2 separate regions of the Homo sapiens genome follow, and region 2 is linked to region 1. Evidence: promoter capture Hi-C in 16 types of primary human blood cells and fetal thymus (Javierre and others, 2016). All regions are on one chromosome and are shown on one strand. The core of a region is centred on a gene start or on the middle of the fragment in contact, and the rest is flanking DNA. Distances in the headings are between cores, read along the strand shown. Region 1 holds the start of WDR73 (WD repeat domain 73). Region 2 overlaps SEC11A (SEC11 homolog A, signal peptidase complex subunit).

The links. The method cuts DNA at HindIII sites, captures the fragments that hold promoters and counts their contacts. A CHiCAGO score of 5 or more calls a contact.
Region 2: a contact is called between a fragment that was not itself captured here and the fragment with the promoter of WDR73 in region 1, in 2 of 17 cell types (neutrophils and M2 macrophages). The highest score is 10.5, in neutrophils.

Annotation. Positions count from the first base shown.
Region 1 is chr15:84,652,628-84,659,337 of GRCh38, reverse strand. It overlaps WDR73 (WD repeat domain 73), which reads left to right and starts at 5,055. Exons shown (of 8, transcript NM_032856.5): 1 at 5,055-5,104; 2 at 5,639-5,706; 3 at 6,536-6,624. The coding sequence starts at 5,064. It overlaps NMB (neuromedin B), which reads left to right and starts at 1,139. Exons shown (of 3, transcript NM_021077.4): 1 at 1,139-1,342; 2 at 1,990-2,162; 3 at 3,929-4,206. The coding sequence starts at 1,186. The coding sequence ends at 3,964. RefSeq lists a silencer at 1,024-1,183 and enhancers at 5,069-5,308, 4,735-5,702. The HindIII fragment of the contact is 10,475 bases long and covers 1-6,710 here.
Region 2 is chr15:84,707,836-84,715,428 of GRCh38, reverse strand. The region is part of intron 1 of SEC11A (SEC11 homolog A, signal peptidase complex subunit); the gene reads left to right. Among named protein-coding and RNA genes, the nearest start is that of SEC11A, 4.5 kb to the left of the region's middle. The HindIII fragment of the contact is 4,390 bases long and covers 3,977-7,593 here.

The DNA.
Region 1 (6,710 bases), core at 3,806-6,305:
CAGACAGCTCCTGGGGAGAACAAAGTGCCAGGTGTGAGAGGGCAGGTCCTACAGAATTGTTGCTTCCGGCCACAGAGTACTTATGCTAAAACATGTAAAAGTATTAAAATTAGGGCAGTGTGGTTATTACCATTTTACAGTTGAAGAAAGTGAGGTTCAGCCGGGTCACAGCTTGTACATGGACTCCTGGGTGCAGTGCAGTCCTGGGTGCAGTGCTCTTTCCACTTTCTTGACCCAGAGGTCTGCTTCCTGCCCATAAGCCAGGCCCTCCAGCTGGATGCCCGTTCCTCAGAAGCGGCCCTTTGTCCCACCCTCCATCATTCTGCATTCCCATTCTGAGCACCTACTGTGTGCCAGAACATTTCCAGACTGTGATGCTGGCTGTGAGAGGGCAGAGAGCAAGGTGAACACGGGTCAGATTCCCCCAAAGGGCGGAGGTGATGGGGATTAGTTTATGGAAGTCCTTTGGTGCCTAGCACTTGGCTGGACACTGTAAAAATGCCTCTGTTAGCCTGGGAAACCTAGCGACATCCAGTCTCTTGGAAAGAAAAAAAAAAAAAGCCAGGCATGAAGGCGTGTGCCTGTGGTCCCAGCTTCTGGGGAGGCTGAGGCTTGAGCCCAGCCCTGGAGGTTGAGTTTGCAGTGAGCCGTGATCGCGCCACCGCACTCCAACCTGCGCGATACTGCCAGATCCTGTCTCAGAAAAAAAAAAAAAAAAAAAAAAAAAAGCCTGTTACCCGGGAGGAGAGCTCCTCGCCCGACCTCTACCCTCATGAAGAGAGGCTCAGAGGGCTGAAGTGCCTATTTGGCCGAAAGCCGTGGCAGAGTGGCAAGGCAGGGCCAGGGGAAGCGGCTCCGCCGCCGGGGCCGGGCCCCTGTTTGGCCGGTGCCCGGTCCTTAGCCTGAAGGTGGCGGGCTTCCGCCAGAAGCCCCTGGCGGAAGCGGTGCCCGCGTGCGGGCCAGAGTGTGGGTGTGCAGGTCTCTGGGCGGCCCAAAGGGGGTGCCCCTGCCTGGTAACCTAGCGGGAGGGTGGGGACGGCGGGGAGGGCGGCGGGCGCGGGGCACGGCTCCGCTGCTCAGGGCAGGCTCCGCCCCCAGGGGCGCGGATTTAAAAGGATCGAAGGCAGCCCCGGAGCCCAGCGGCCGGGAAGCGCGCCCGAACGAAGCCGCGGCCCGGGCACAGCCATGGCCCGGCGGGCGGGGGGCGCTCGGATGTTCGGCAGCCTCCTGCTCTTCGCCCTGCTCGCTGCCGGCGTCGCCCCGCTCAGCTGGGATCTCCCGGAGCCCCGCAGCCGAGCCAGCAAGATCCGAGTGCACTCGCGAGGCAACCTCTGGGCCACCGGTAAGTCTTTGGGGACGGAGCAAGCAAGCGCCCCTCATCCAGTTCAGACCCCATTTCCTTCTCAACCCTCTGGCCGCTCCTCAGCCACGGACACTAGTGTCGGAGCAGGTGGAAAACCCTGGGGCTCATCTAATTTAATAGATATGTACTTGAGACCCGGACAGGTCAGTGACTTGGCTAAGGTCGCGCAGCCAGTTTAAGACAGGGCTGGGCTAGATCCTAAATCCCACTGCCAGCCGGTGCCCCTTACCTTAGGCGAGACTTAACCGAATCTTCTAACCGCTGGTGTGTTTTTGCTGCACCTCCACTTTCCAGGCGCCTCTTCACTCTCCACTTCCTACCCTGCCCTTTTTCGTCCCTTGTCCAAGCAGCCCACACAACTAGCAGAGTTTCTCCCTGGCCCTGGACCATCCCACCTTCCTGCCAGCTGTGCCATCCTCTCTACCTGTTCAGGAAAAGCTGAGGGAGCAGGCTTTGCCACCACCCAGACACCTTTGTGGCTCCTTGGTGAGGTGGAAGCACCAAGAGGAGGAAGGTTAAGTGTCTTCCCGCTACAAGAACGGAAACGTGGGAGAGATGAGGAACTTTTCCTCTGAGGTAGGATCCTGGCTGCTTGACTTCCTTGTGCCTGGACACCTCCTTTCCAGGTCACTTCATGGGCAAGAAGAGTCTGGAGCCTTCCAGCCCATCCCCATTGGGGACAGCTCCCCACACCTCCCTGAGGGACCAGCGACTGCAGCTGAGTCATGATCTGCTCGGAATCCTCCTGCTAAAGAAGGCTCTGGGCGTGAGCCTCAGCCGCCCCGCACCCCAAATCCAGGTGAGCCGGGCCCCTGCTCCAATGTCAGGAGGGCCCAGCTGGGGCCATCCCCGGATCCTGCATGGGAGGAATTACCACCCAGTACTGTATTAGGGTGTGACTGTCTGACTAGGACATTATGGGTGTGGACCCCAGAAAGCCAGGTTTCCAGGCTTTTCCCTCTTGAGGCAGAGCTCAAAGGAGGAACAGTCCAAAGAAAGGAAGCTGACCTTCCCAGTAGACCCCATGGGGCAAGAAGTAGGGAAAGAAGTTCCCCTGACTCATCACCCAGTCTAAAGTAACAGACTGGGATCATCAGCCTTTTGGAGCAGGACCTTTCTCCCCCAGTCTACACAGTCTTGTCCCACCCATGCTGTTCCCTGCTGCATTAGTCAAGTCCACCTTTGCTGTGTCCTGTGTATGCTTGTGGCCGGAATGGGACCCTGAGGCCCAGAGAGGGAAAGAGAAGTCAGCAGCCAAGACAGAGTCTGGACCTTGTTCACCTGGACTGGAGCTCTTCCCATTCTCTCATCTGCCTCAGTATCCAGTGGTAGGGTTTAGCAACTTCAGTACATTTGACGTTCTAGGCTGAATCACTGTTTCTTGTGAGGGCTGACGTGTGCATCATGGGATGTTTGGCAGCATCCCTGGTCTCTACATACTAGATGCCAGTAGCATCTTTCCCCCCCATCAAGTTGTGACAACTGAAAAGACCTCCAGACATCACCAGATGTCTGCTGGGGGAGAGGGCCCCAAATCATTATTGGTTGTCAGTCACTGATCTATGGGATTCAAGACTCCAAAGCTGGAGCCAAGCTAGCCTCAAGGTATAGCCCCGCTGAGTGGCAACTCCTTCATTCCCTGCTCCTGGTGCTGTCCTTACTGCACACCACCCTCCCTGGTCCTGCTGCTGTGTGCAGAAGGCAGTGTGATGTGGTAGAATGTGGGTTTTGACTACAACGTGCTGGGCTCATAACCTAGCTACTTAGTAGCTGTATGACCTTAGAAATGTCCCTTAACTTCTCTAAAGCCTCAATATTCTTCACCCATAAAATGAAGATAATAAGGCCCATCTCCCATTAAATGAGACCATTTATGTCAAATGCTCAGCATGGTGCCTGGCTCATAGACAGCCCTTAGTAGATGCGAGCTCTTATCAGTCTGTGAGCTCCCTGGCGGCACCTGTTGTAGACTCGCCTTCATATCCCCCAGTGTGCCTAGCATATAGTGTGTGCATTTTGAAGGGAGAGGCATTCCCTAGAAAAGGTCCAACCCAGCCTCAACCAACATCCCTGACTTCCTGAGGCACAGAACCAGCAGCCCCTGAGGACCTCAGATGTAAGGCCTAGGAGCTTGGGCTGGCTGAGTCTGAAGGGAAACAATGTCACCTCTAATGCCCTTGGTTTTGAAGCTCTGACACATGCAGACCAACTAGAGAATCTCAGAAGCAGCAGTGCCTACGTCTGGGGCTTCAGAGTGAGGTCTGGGGCAGAGCTGGGGTGGGGGAGTGAGGACGCTGACACTAGCCCAGCACCAAGCACTGTATTTGGATTTTCTTCCACGATCTTCTTTGACTGTCATGACCACCCTGGGTGGTTGGGGCTGTGTTCTGAGAAAACTACTGCCCCGACCCCTCCAAGGCAATTCAGGGTGCTCTGGGGCCTGCCTCAGCTGACAGCCTGCTGGTGCCCACCTCTGCAGACATCTGGCACTTAGGAATGGCAGGATGCCCCTATCTTTATCAGGAGCCCCTCCCTGGCTCAATTCTTCTGTATGTTTCTCTTCAGTACAGGAGGCTGCTGGTACAAATACTGCAGAAATGACACCAATAATGGGGCAGACACAACAGCGTGGCTTAGATTGTGCCCACCCAGGGAAGGTGCTGAATGGGACCCTGTTGATGGCCCCATCTGGATGTAAATCCTGAGCTCAAATCTCTGTTACTCCATTACTGTGATTTCTGGCTGGGTCACCAGAAATATCGCTGATGCAGACACAGATTATGTTCCTGCTGTATTTCCTGCTTCCCTGTTGAATTGGTGAATAAAACCTTGCTCTTTACATACAATGCCTGGTCCTCTCCTTTCACCCGTCTTTTAGGGGATGGGAGGAAAAGGGGGCTGGAGGGCAGAGTGTTCAGTGAGATGGGGCTGGCTCAAAAAGTCCAGAATACCCCATGCCATGGCACCAGCCTGGCACTGACTCTGGCCTCCTACCCATTCATTCAGCAAGCAAATAACGCCTGTTGCATGCCAGGCTTCGTGCCAGGCGCGGGGTTCTACTCTCATCTCTGCCACCTACTGGCGCAGGCAAGTGTCACTAGTTTCCTCGCTAGTAAAAGGGGGCTGCAGACACTACACTGCCGGGCTTTACTCAATACCCCCGCCGGACTTGGAGGGGAGCGCCGAGTTGGGATCCAGACCCTGCCGGCCGCTTCCTCTCTTCTCTGGCCGTCAGAAGGGTTGCCAGCGTTAGCAAATAAAAATACTGGACACCCAGTTAAATTCGAATTTCAGATAAACAATAATTTTATCTAATAAAATGTACCAAATATTGCATGAACATACTCGTAAGAAAGAAATTATTCACCGTTTTTCTGAAATTCGAATTTAACCGGGCGGTCCTGTATTATTTCTGGCCTTGGAGCATTCATTGCCCCTCTCTTGGGCTGCAAACACCTGGCCCTAAAACGGGCGATCATTTGGTCCTCAGGTCCTGCTTGGAGCTGACAGCGGGAAAGTCCCGATTTCAGGTCACTTTTCCCGGAGCTTTCGCGGAGAAAACCCGTAACCCACCCATGCCGGGCCGCAGCTCAGCCTGTTAACCCCGCCCCTAACGGGAGGCCCTGCCCACATCTCGCGAGAGCCGCGCGGCCCCCGAAGGCTCGCAGGCGGAAGTGAGACGCCGGAAGCGGTCGTTGCCATGGATCCTGGGGACGACTGGCTGGTGGAATCCTTGCGCTTGTAAATCGTACGGGGCTGGGACATGGGAGCTGGGCCTGGAGCTTGCCTGGCGGGCGGATGGGTGTGGGTGGAGGCACGTTGGGGATCCTGGTGCAGAGTGGGCCAGCTGTGGCCTCGGGGCTCGCCACCGTGGAGGACTCCGCCTGGGCCTAGGCCCCCATCTCTAGGAAATGGCTCCTTCCTGCGTGCGCGCGTTGTGAGATTACTAGTAAGAGCCGCGCTTGTGAAGACGCAGTGCCCAGTTAGTTTGCGCCAGCCTCTGAGTTCAGCTCAGAACACAGATGATCTCATTGATTCCTCACGTCAACCTTGGGAAATCTGGGTACCCTGGGACGTCCACACATGAGGACCGAGGCTCAGGGACATCAAGGGACTGGCCTGGTCCCAGAAACAGGGAGTAAAATGGGAAGTAAACTCAGTCCCACGTCTGCCTGACTCCAGAGTTTGGGCCACTGAACCATGCGGCTGCCATCTTGGAGTTCTTTGAGCTGTGAAGTGCTGTGCATCGTGTGATTCTGTGTCCCTTTTGTGCAGGTACCAGGATTTCTATGCATTCGACCTGTCAGGAGCCACTCGAGTCCTTGAATGGATTGATGACAAAGGTGGTATACCTTTCTAGCCCTGAAGGAGAGGGAATCTCACTCCTGAGCTGGGTTTCAGGAGCTAAGCCTAGAGGGACCCAACCCACTCTTCTGGGCACCTGAGAGTCACTTGTAGCAATTTGATGCCCCATCAGCACTAATATTCCTCTTATTAAGATCTCTGACCGGGAGCAGTGGTTCACGCCTGTAATCCCAGCACTTTGGGAGGCCGAGGCAGGCGGATCACCTGAGGTCAGGAGTTCGAGACCAGTCTGGCCAACATGGTGAAACCCCGTCTCTACTGAAAATACAAAAATTAGCCGGACGAGGTGGTGCACACCTGTGTACCAGCAGCTACTGGGGAGGCTGAGGCAGGAGAATCACTTGAACCCAGGAGGTGGAGGTTGCAGTGAGCTGAGATCACGACACTGTATTCCAGCGTGGCTAACAAAAAAAGTCTTCAGGCTGGGCACTTCAGGAGGCTGAGGCAGCGGGCAGATTGCTTGATCCCAGGAATTTGAGACTAACCTAAGCAAGGAAACCCTGTCTCTACAAAAAATACAAAAATTAGCCGAGCATGGTGGCTCACGCCTATAATCCCAGCTACTCTGAAGGCTGTGGTGGGAGGATCACTTGAGCCTGGCAGGTTGAGGCTGCAGTGAGCTGTGATCGGACCACTGCACTCCAGCCTGGCTGACACAGCGAGACCTTGTCTGAAAAAGACACAACCAGGTACTCAATTCCTCCATACAAGGCTGCACAGTGAAGGAATGTATCCTTACTTCGGGGGATTGCATGGTCTGCAATCTTTCTAACAATTTGTGACAGCTACCTCTGCTTCTTTTTCCAGGAGTCTTTGTTGCTGGCTATGAAAGCCTGAAAAAGAATGAAATTCTTCATCTGAAATTACCTCTCAGACTTTCTGTAAAGGAAAACAAGGTAACTTAAAATATAAATGCTGAGTATGTCAACTTTTATTTATTTATTAAACATTTGTGGAGCTCCTGTTATCTACCAGGTATTGT
Region 2 (7,593 bases), core at 4,922-7,421, 55 kb before region 1:
GTTTTACAGTCCAATATCAGTGCCACGGGGATCTGGAAATGTAGGTCTCCTGATTTTGTCCTTACACTTTACTTTGATCTTCTAGATCGTATGCCAAATAGTACTGAGAATATTGTTGTAATTATTTAGTCCTTAGAAAAGGTTGTTCTGTTTTATCTTTTGCGCCTAGTGTGTCTGTAGAGCCTAGTTTTGCTGCATCGGACTTTTTTTTTGTTTTAAACAGTATTTTACTGTTATGATTATCCTGATGTCACCATTAAGGATTTTTTTTCCTTGGACTTGCATTTTTTGTACTTATAACTGCCACTTAGGGAAGTAGATACACAACCTTTCCTTACTCCCCTTCAGGCCTTAGCTAGCTCAGTGTCAATTCTGTCAGTCAGAATTGAGCATTCTATAAAAATTGCGCAAACGTTACTTTATGTCTTTATGACAACACTTCAAATTTTTACTTGTATAGTGTTGTCTTTTTTTAATCCATATTTGGATTTCTAGATGCCACAGATATTTCTCTGAGGAAAGTATTTATTTTGAGTCTGATATTTATTGTACTCTATGCTAGGTACAATGAGAGAAATGCAAAGATAGTTAAGAAAGACTCGGCCTTCAAGGAGCCTAAATGTGTAGAAAAGGACTAAGGCAAAACAATAACTTTTTTGAGCTCTTGCCATGTGTGAAGCACTTTATACACCTGTAAGGTAGGTAACGTTGTTCTTATTAAACATGAAGAAAATGAGACTTTGTGAGAAGCAATACAGTATAGAAGTTAAGAATATGGACTCTAAAGCTAGATTTCAGAGGTTTGAAGTAGCTCTGCTACTTACTGGCTGTGTGACTTTGAGCAGATTACTTAACCTGTCTGTGCCTATGTTTACTTTTATTGTTGTAAAAAGATATGCAACATAAAATATTCCATTTCAACCGTTTTTACGTGTATACTTCACTGACATTAGTTGCATTCACTATGTTGTGCAAACGTAGGGTCGCTATGAAGATTAAATGAGTTAATTCATATAAAGCCCTCAGAAGAGTGTCTGGCACATGGTGAGTATTGGCTGTACTGTGGTCGATGTCATTGTTAGAGAGCTTTAGTGATTTGCTTAAGACAGAAGGTAGACTGGGTGCGGTGGCTCACGCCTGTAATCCCAGCACTTTGGGAGGCTGAGGCAGGCGGATCACAATGTCAAGAGATTGAGACCATCCTGGCCAACATGGTGAAACCCCCTCTCTACTAAAAATACAGATACTAGCTGGGCCTGTTGGCGCACGCCTGTAGTTCCAGCTACTCAGGAGGCTGAGGCAGGGGAATCGCCTGGGAGGTGGAGATTGCAGTGAGCTGAGATCGTGCCACCGCACTCCAGCCTGGTGACAGAGTGAGACTCCGTCTCAAAAAAAAAAAAAAAAAAAAAAGAAGGTATATGGCAGGATGTGGATTTGATCTCAGGTCTTACTTTAAAGCCTGAACACTTGGATAAAGAAGGATATGACCTGTTCTAGCAGTGGTAGGAAAATTTTGAGAGGTTCCAGTCAGGGCATTACGAACAGCTTCAAGGAGAAACTAGCATTTAAGTTGGATCTTGAAAGACCTTAATAGCTTCATCTTTAACCTGGGTTGGTTAGCATTCCAATAATCAAAAGGGAAGGAATTCACTCAGCACTTGCAAACCTGCTAGATAGGCTCTAAAGCATAGAGATATATAAGGTACTCTTCCTGCTCTAATAAAATGGACAGGAAGAAAGAACAGAAACATGAAGATACAATGAATAGGCTACTCTGCCCTGTGTTTCTCTAATATGGAGTGATTGTGGTTCAGAATTCATTGCATCTAGGACATTCAGGGTTAGTGGAAGTTTAAATGGTAAAATTATCCTCCCTGGCCTCCCAGAGGTTGTTAGGAATGGATAGGAGGGATTGGATAACATGGGGTGAGGGAGAGTTATGAAATGAGATCTTTATCTGTACATAATATCTAGGAGGAAGAATTGACAATACATGTAGATACTGAGAATCAGACGAAAGAGGGAAACTAGAATTTTGTTTTATTCCTCTAAAAGTTGCTATTATTTGCATAACTTCTCTGCTTATACCTAATTACATATTACATATATGTTAAATGTCTGATTGCTTTGAGTTTTTGTTTTTTTTTTCTTATCAGATCCACAGAGGAATACTTTAGTAAATGAACTCCATCCATTTAAAGTGTACCATTTGATAAGTGTTTTTTTTTTTTTTTTGAGACGGAGTCTCACTCTGTTGCCCAGGCTGGAGTGCAGTAGTGCAATCTTGACTCACTGCAAGCTCCACCTCCCAGGTTCACGCCATTCTCCTGCCTCAGCCTCCCAAGTAGCTGGGACTACAGGCACCCGCCACCACACCCGGCTAATTTTTTGTATTTTTAGTAGAGACAGGGTTTCACCATGGTCTTGATCTCCTGACCTTGTGATCCGCCTGCCTCGGCCTTCCAAAATGCTAGGATTACAGGCGTGAGCCACTGCTCCCGGCCGGCCGATAAGTTTTTATACTTACGTATACTGATCACAATCAAGATATAGAACGTATATATCACCTACAAGACCCGTTCTGTCCCACCTCTAATGTGCTTTTTGTCAGTATAGAGGGGTATGCATTTTATATAAATGGAATCATAGAGTATGTATTCTTTGGAGTTTTAATCAGTTTTTAGGCTGGACGCAGTGGCTCATGCCTGTAATCCAGCACTTTGGGAGGCCGAGCAGGTGGATTGCCTGAGCTCAGGAGTTCAAGACCAGCCTGGCCAACATGGTGAAACCCTGTCTCTACTAAAAATACAAAAATTAGCCGAGCATGGTGGTGCGCACCTGTAATCCCAGCTACTCAGGAGGCTGAGGCAGGAGAATTGCTTCAACCTGGGAGGCAGAGGTTGCAGTGAGCCCAGATCGCACCACTGCACTCCAGCCTGGGCGACAGAGCAAGGCTCTATCTCAAAAAAAAAAAAAAAAGAAAAAAAAGAAAAGAGTATGTTTCAGTTTTGTAAGAAACCATAAAACACTTTCAGAATGGCTGTACTGTTTTGCCTTTCACCAGCAATGAATGAGAGTTCCTGTTGCTCCACATCCTCCCCAGTATTTCATGTTGTCAGTGTACTGGATTCTGGGCTTTGTAATAGAGGTAGAGGTATGTTGGGTTTCTTAGAATTTTTTTTTTTTTAAGACAAGGTCTCTCTCTGTTGCCCAGGCTGGAGTGCAGTAGCATAATCACAGCTTACTGCAGCCTTGAACTCCTGGGGCTCAGGCAATCCTCCCACCTTAGCCTCCTGAGTAGTTGGGACTATGGATGTGTGCCACCATGCCTGGCTAATTTTTGTATTTTTTGTAGAGATGGAGTCTCGCTATTCTGCCCAAGCTGGTCTCAAATTCCTGGGCTCGAGTGATCCTCCCACCTCGGATCCTCAAACTGCTGGAATTACAGATGTGAGCCACCACACCCAGCCAAGTTGTTTAAATTAATTGATTTTTAACAGTGCTGCTTGTATTCTTTCTTAGTCTCTGGGTACCACCCTAGAATATTAGGTGATCTTTAAGGTCCTTTTAGCTAATAGTCATATACTATTTTATTTGTATTCTTACCTTTGTTTGGAGTACGGCTTCTTTTTTTTTTTTTTTTTTTTGAGATAGAGTCTCGCTCTATTCTGTCACCCAGGCTGGAATGCAGTGACGTGATCTCGGCTCACCGCAACCAAGTAGCTGGGATTACAGGTGTGCGCCACCACGTCTGGCTAATTTTTGTATTTTTAGTAGAGATGGGGGTTTCACCATGTTGGCCAGGCTTGTCTTGAACTCCTGACCTCAAGTGATCTGATCGCCTCAGGCTGCTAAAGTGCTGGGGTTACAGGCATGAGCCACTGTGCCTGGCCTTTAATATAATTTATTATTCTAGTTTTTTAACAGCACTGTGTTTAACAACCAGCTTGCAGAATTGCTGAAAATTTAGGAAGCTTGTTCCAGCACACCACTGATTAGTATGAGAGGTTTGTTTTTTTTTTTAATTTTTGTTTGTTTGTTTGTTTTGAGACAGGGTCTCACTCTGTTGACCAGGCTGGAGTACAGCGGCAGGATCTTGGCTCCCTGCAACCTCCTCCTTCCGGGATCAAGTGATTCTCCCACCTCAGCCTCTGGAGTAGCTGGGACTACGGGCCAGTGACACCACACCTGGCTAATTTTTGTGTTTTTTGTAGAGTCTGGGTTTCACCAGGTTGCCCAGGCTGGTTGTGAACCCCTGAGCTCAGCCATCTGCCCACCTCAGCCTCCCAAAGAGCTGGGATTGAATATAGGTGTGAGTCACTGCGCCCAGCCTTAATATGAGCATTTTTTTTTTTTTTTGAGATGGAGTCTTGCTCTGTTTTGCAGGCTAGAGTGCAATGGCTCGACCTCGGCTCACTAGAACCTCCGCCCCCCGGGTTCAAGCGATTCTCCTGCCTCAGCTTCCCAAGTAGCTGGGACTATAGGTGCGTGTGATCACACGCTAATTTTTTGTATTTTTAGTAGAGACGGGGTTTCACTGTGTTAGCCAGGATGGTCTTGATCTCCTGACCTCGTGATCTGCCCACCTCGGCCTCCCAAAGATATGTGTGTTTTTCAATGCACATTGAGGTGGTTTTTGTGTGCAGAAAAACCTATTTAGAGTTATCTTTAGTTCTAATAATTATAAAACCTAAAATTTTAAAACTAAATTCTTTCTTAAACTTGTAGAATTTGTTTACAAATCTTATCCTATTTAAAGTGTAGCAAATTTTAACAATCACTTTTTTATTTGAGACAGAATCTTGCTCTGTCGCCCAGGCTGGAGTGTGGTGGCACCATCTAGGCTCAACTGCAACCTCTGCCTCCTAGGTTCACACAATTCCCCTGCCACAGCCTCCAGAGTAGCTGGGATTATAGGCGTGCACCACCACTCCCGGCTAATTTTTGTATTTTTTTTAGTAGAGACGAGGTTTCACCATGTTGACCAGGCTGGTCTCGAACTCCTGACCTCAAGTGATCCGCCTGCCTTGGCCTCCCAAAGTGTTGGGATTACAGGTGTGAGCCACTGCACTCAGCCAACAATCACCTTTAAGAGCCTATGTTTGGTTTAATTTCAAAGTTAAACATCTTAAAATAATTAAACTTTATAAATTAAAAAAATATTTTAAAGAACTTTGATTATTCAACAAACATGGACTACTTATATAATTTTTATAGATCTGAGACTTCTTAAGTTCTCTTAAAATGTTTCAGCACTGTATATAAATAGGAAACTTTCTGATTCACATAATCTAAAACAACTGATTACACATTTTAAACTGAATTTTTAAGGCTGACTTATTACTTCACTAGGCCAAATTCTCTTAAATTTTACAAAAGTTAAAATACCAAATATAGCTGGGTGCAGTGGCTCACGCCTGTAATGGTGGAGGCCGAGATGGATGAATCGCTTGAGCCCAGGAGTTTGAGACCAGTCTGGGCAACATAGCGAAACCCCATTTCTACTAAAAATACAAAAATTAGCCAGGTGTGGTGGCACACGCCTGTAATCCCAGCTACTCAGGTGGCTGAGGCACAAGAATCACTTGAACCTGGAAGGCGGAGGTTGCAGTGAATCAAGATTGTGCCACTGCACTCCAGCCTGGGTGACAGTGTGAGACCCTGTCTCAAAAAAATGAACAGAAGAGGCCAGGTGCAGTGGCTCACGCTTGTAATCCCAGCACTTTGGGAGGCTGAGGCCGGCAGATCACTTGAGGTCAGGAGTTCGAAACCAGCCTGGCCAACGTAGTGAAGCCCCGTCTCTACTAAAAATAAAAAAATTAGTGGGGTGTGGTGGTGTGCACCTGTAATCCCAGCTACTTGGGAGGCTGAGGCAGAAGAATCGCTTGAACCCAGGAGACGGTGGTCGTAGTGAGCCAAGATCACACCACTGCACTCCAGTCTGGGTGACAGAGCGAGACTCCATCTCAAAAAACAAAACAATACCAAAAACAAAAACAAATACAAACAGAGTTCTTAACATAAGAATATTAACACTATGCACGCTTTCCCTTAAACATTCTATTTTTAATTATAAATCATTCTGGGGATAAAAATGATAGCTAGGTGCGGTGGTGCACCTGTAGTACCAGCTGCTCAGGGAGGCTGAGGCAGGATGATTGCTTGAGCCCAAGGAGTTCAAGTCTAGCCTGGTCAACATAGTGAGGCCCCATCTCTTAAAACAAAAAAAAAAGATATTTACTCACTAATAAAATAAGTATGTTATGCCAAATTATTTTTATGTTACATGTATGTCACATGTAATTTTTAGAATTGACTTCTCTGCTTGCTGAGATTTTTTTTATTGGCCAGGATGTGACTAGATCCCTGTCTGAGCCCTGAAGGGACTAAGCAGACTCCCATAAATGTGTGCTTAGCTCCCCGCAGGCCACTTATATTGCTTGATTGAATTTGCATTTCTCTGGGTTTTAATTATCTGTATGCCTTCCTGCCTAAATGTAAAGTCCTTGAGACTTAATAGGATCCTTCATTCTTTTTATATCTTCCTATCTCTTAGTATCACCCAACTCTTAACTGTTATTGCAGTGATATCTTAACGATTTCTAGATAGCTTTTTCTTTTCTTTTCATTTTTTTTTTCCTGAGATAAGGTCTCGCTCTGTCACCTAGGCTGGAGTCCAGTGATGCGATTACAGCTCACTGCAGTCTCAACCTCCTGGGTCCAAGCTATCCCCCCACCTCAGCCTCCCAAGTAGCTGGGACTACAGGTGTACACCAGGTACCATAGTGAGACTCCATTTCATACCTGGTTAATTTTTGTATTTTTTGTAGAGTTGAGATTTCGCCCTGTTGCCTAGGTATCTTTGATACTTTTTTTTTTAAACGAGTTGTCGCTCTAGTGAAACATACAGAAACCTAGGAAATTTTTCTTAGATATAGACCTAATAGGAATAAATGTGAAGCAAATAGGAGGTGTATCCAACACAGAGGATAAAGCCACTACTTTTTTTGATTATGGAAAAGTAATCTGGTCTTATTTAGGTTCAGGAAAATCTTTATTACTGGCAGGGTATCAACATTTATTAATGAATTGCCAAGTTTCAATGTAGAAATATTGATATCAGTCCCCATTACATACACAAGAACATCACAAGTAAAATTTTATTGTAAACTGCAATTAACATCAACAGGTATATTCTTTTTTTTTTTTTTTTTTTTTTTTTTGAGACAGAGCCTCACTCTGTCACCCAGGCTGAAGTGCAGTGGTGCCATCTCACTGCAACCTCTGCCTCCTGGGTTCAAGCAATTATCTTGCCTCAGTCTCCTGATTAACTGGGATTACAGGCGTGTGCCACCACGCCTGGCTAATTTTTTGTATTTTTTTAGTAAAGACGGGGTTTCACCATGTTGGCCAGGCTGGTCTTGAACTCCTGACCTCAAGTGATTCACCAGCCTTGGCCTCCCAAAGTGCTGGGATTACAGATGTGAGCCACTATGCCCGGCTGGTATATTCTTTTGAACAGCCAGAAATTATTCTTTATTCCATGTAACTGAGCAAAATCCAGAATATAGTACCATAGTAACAAAGATATTT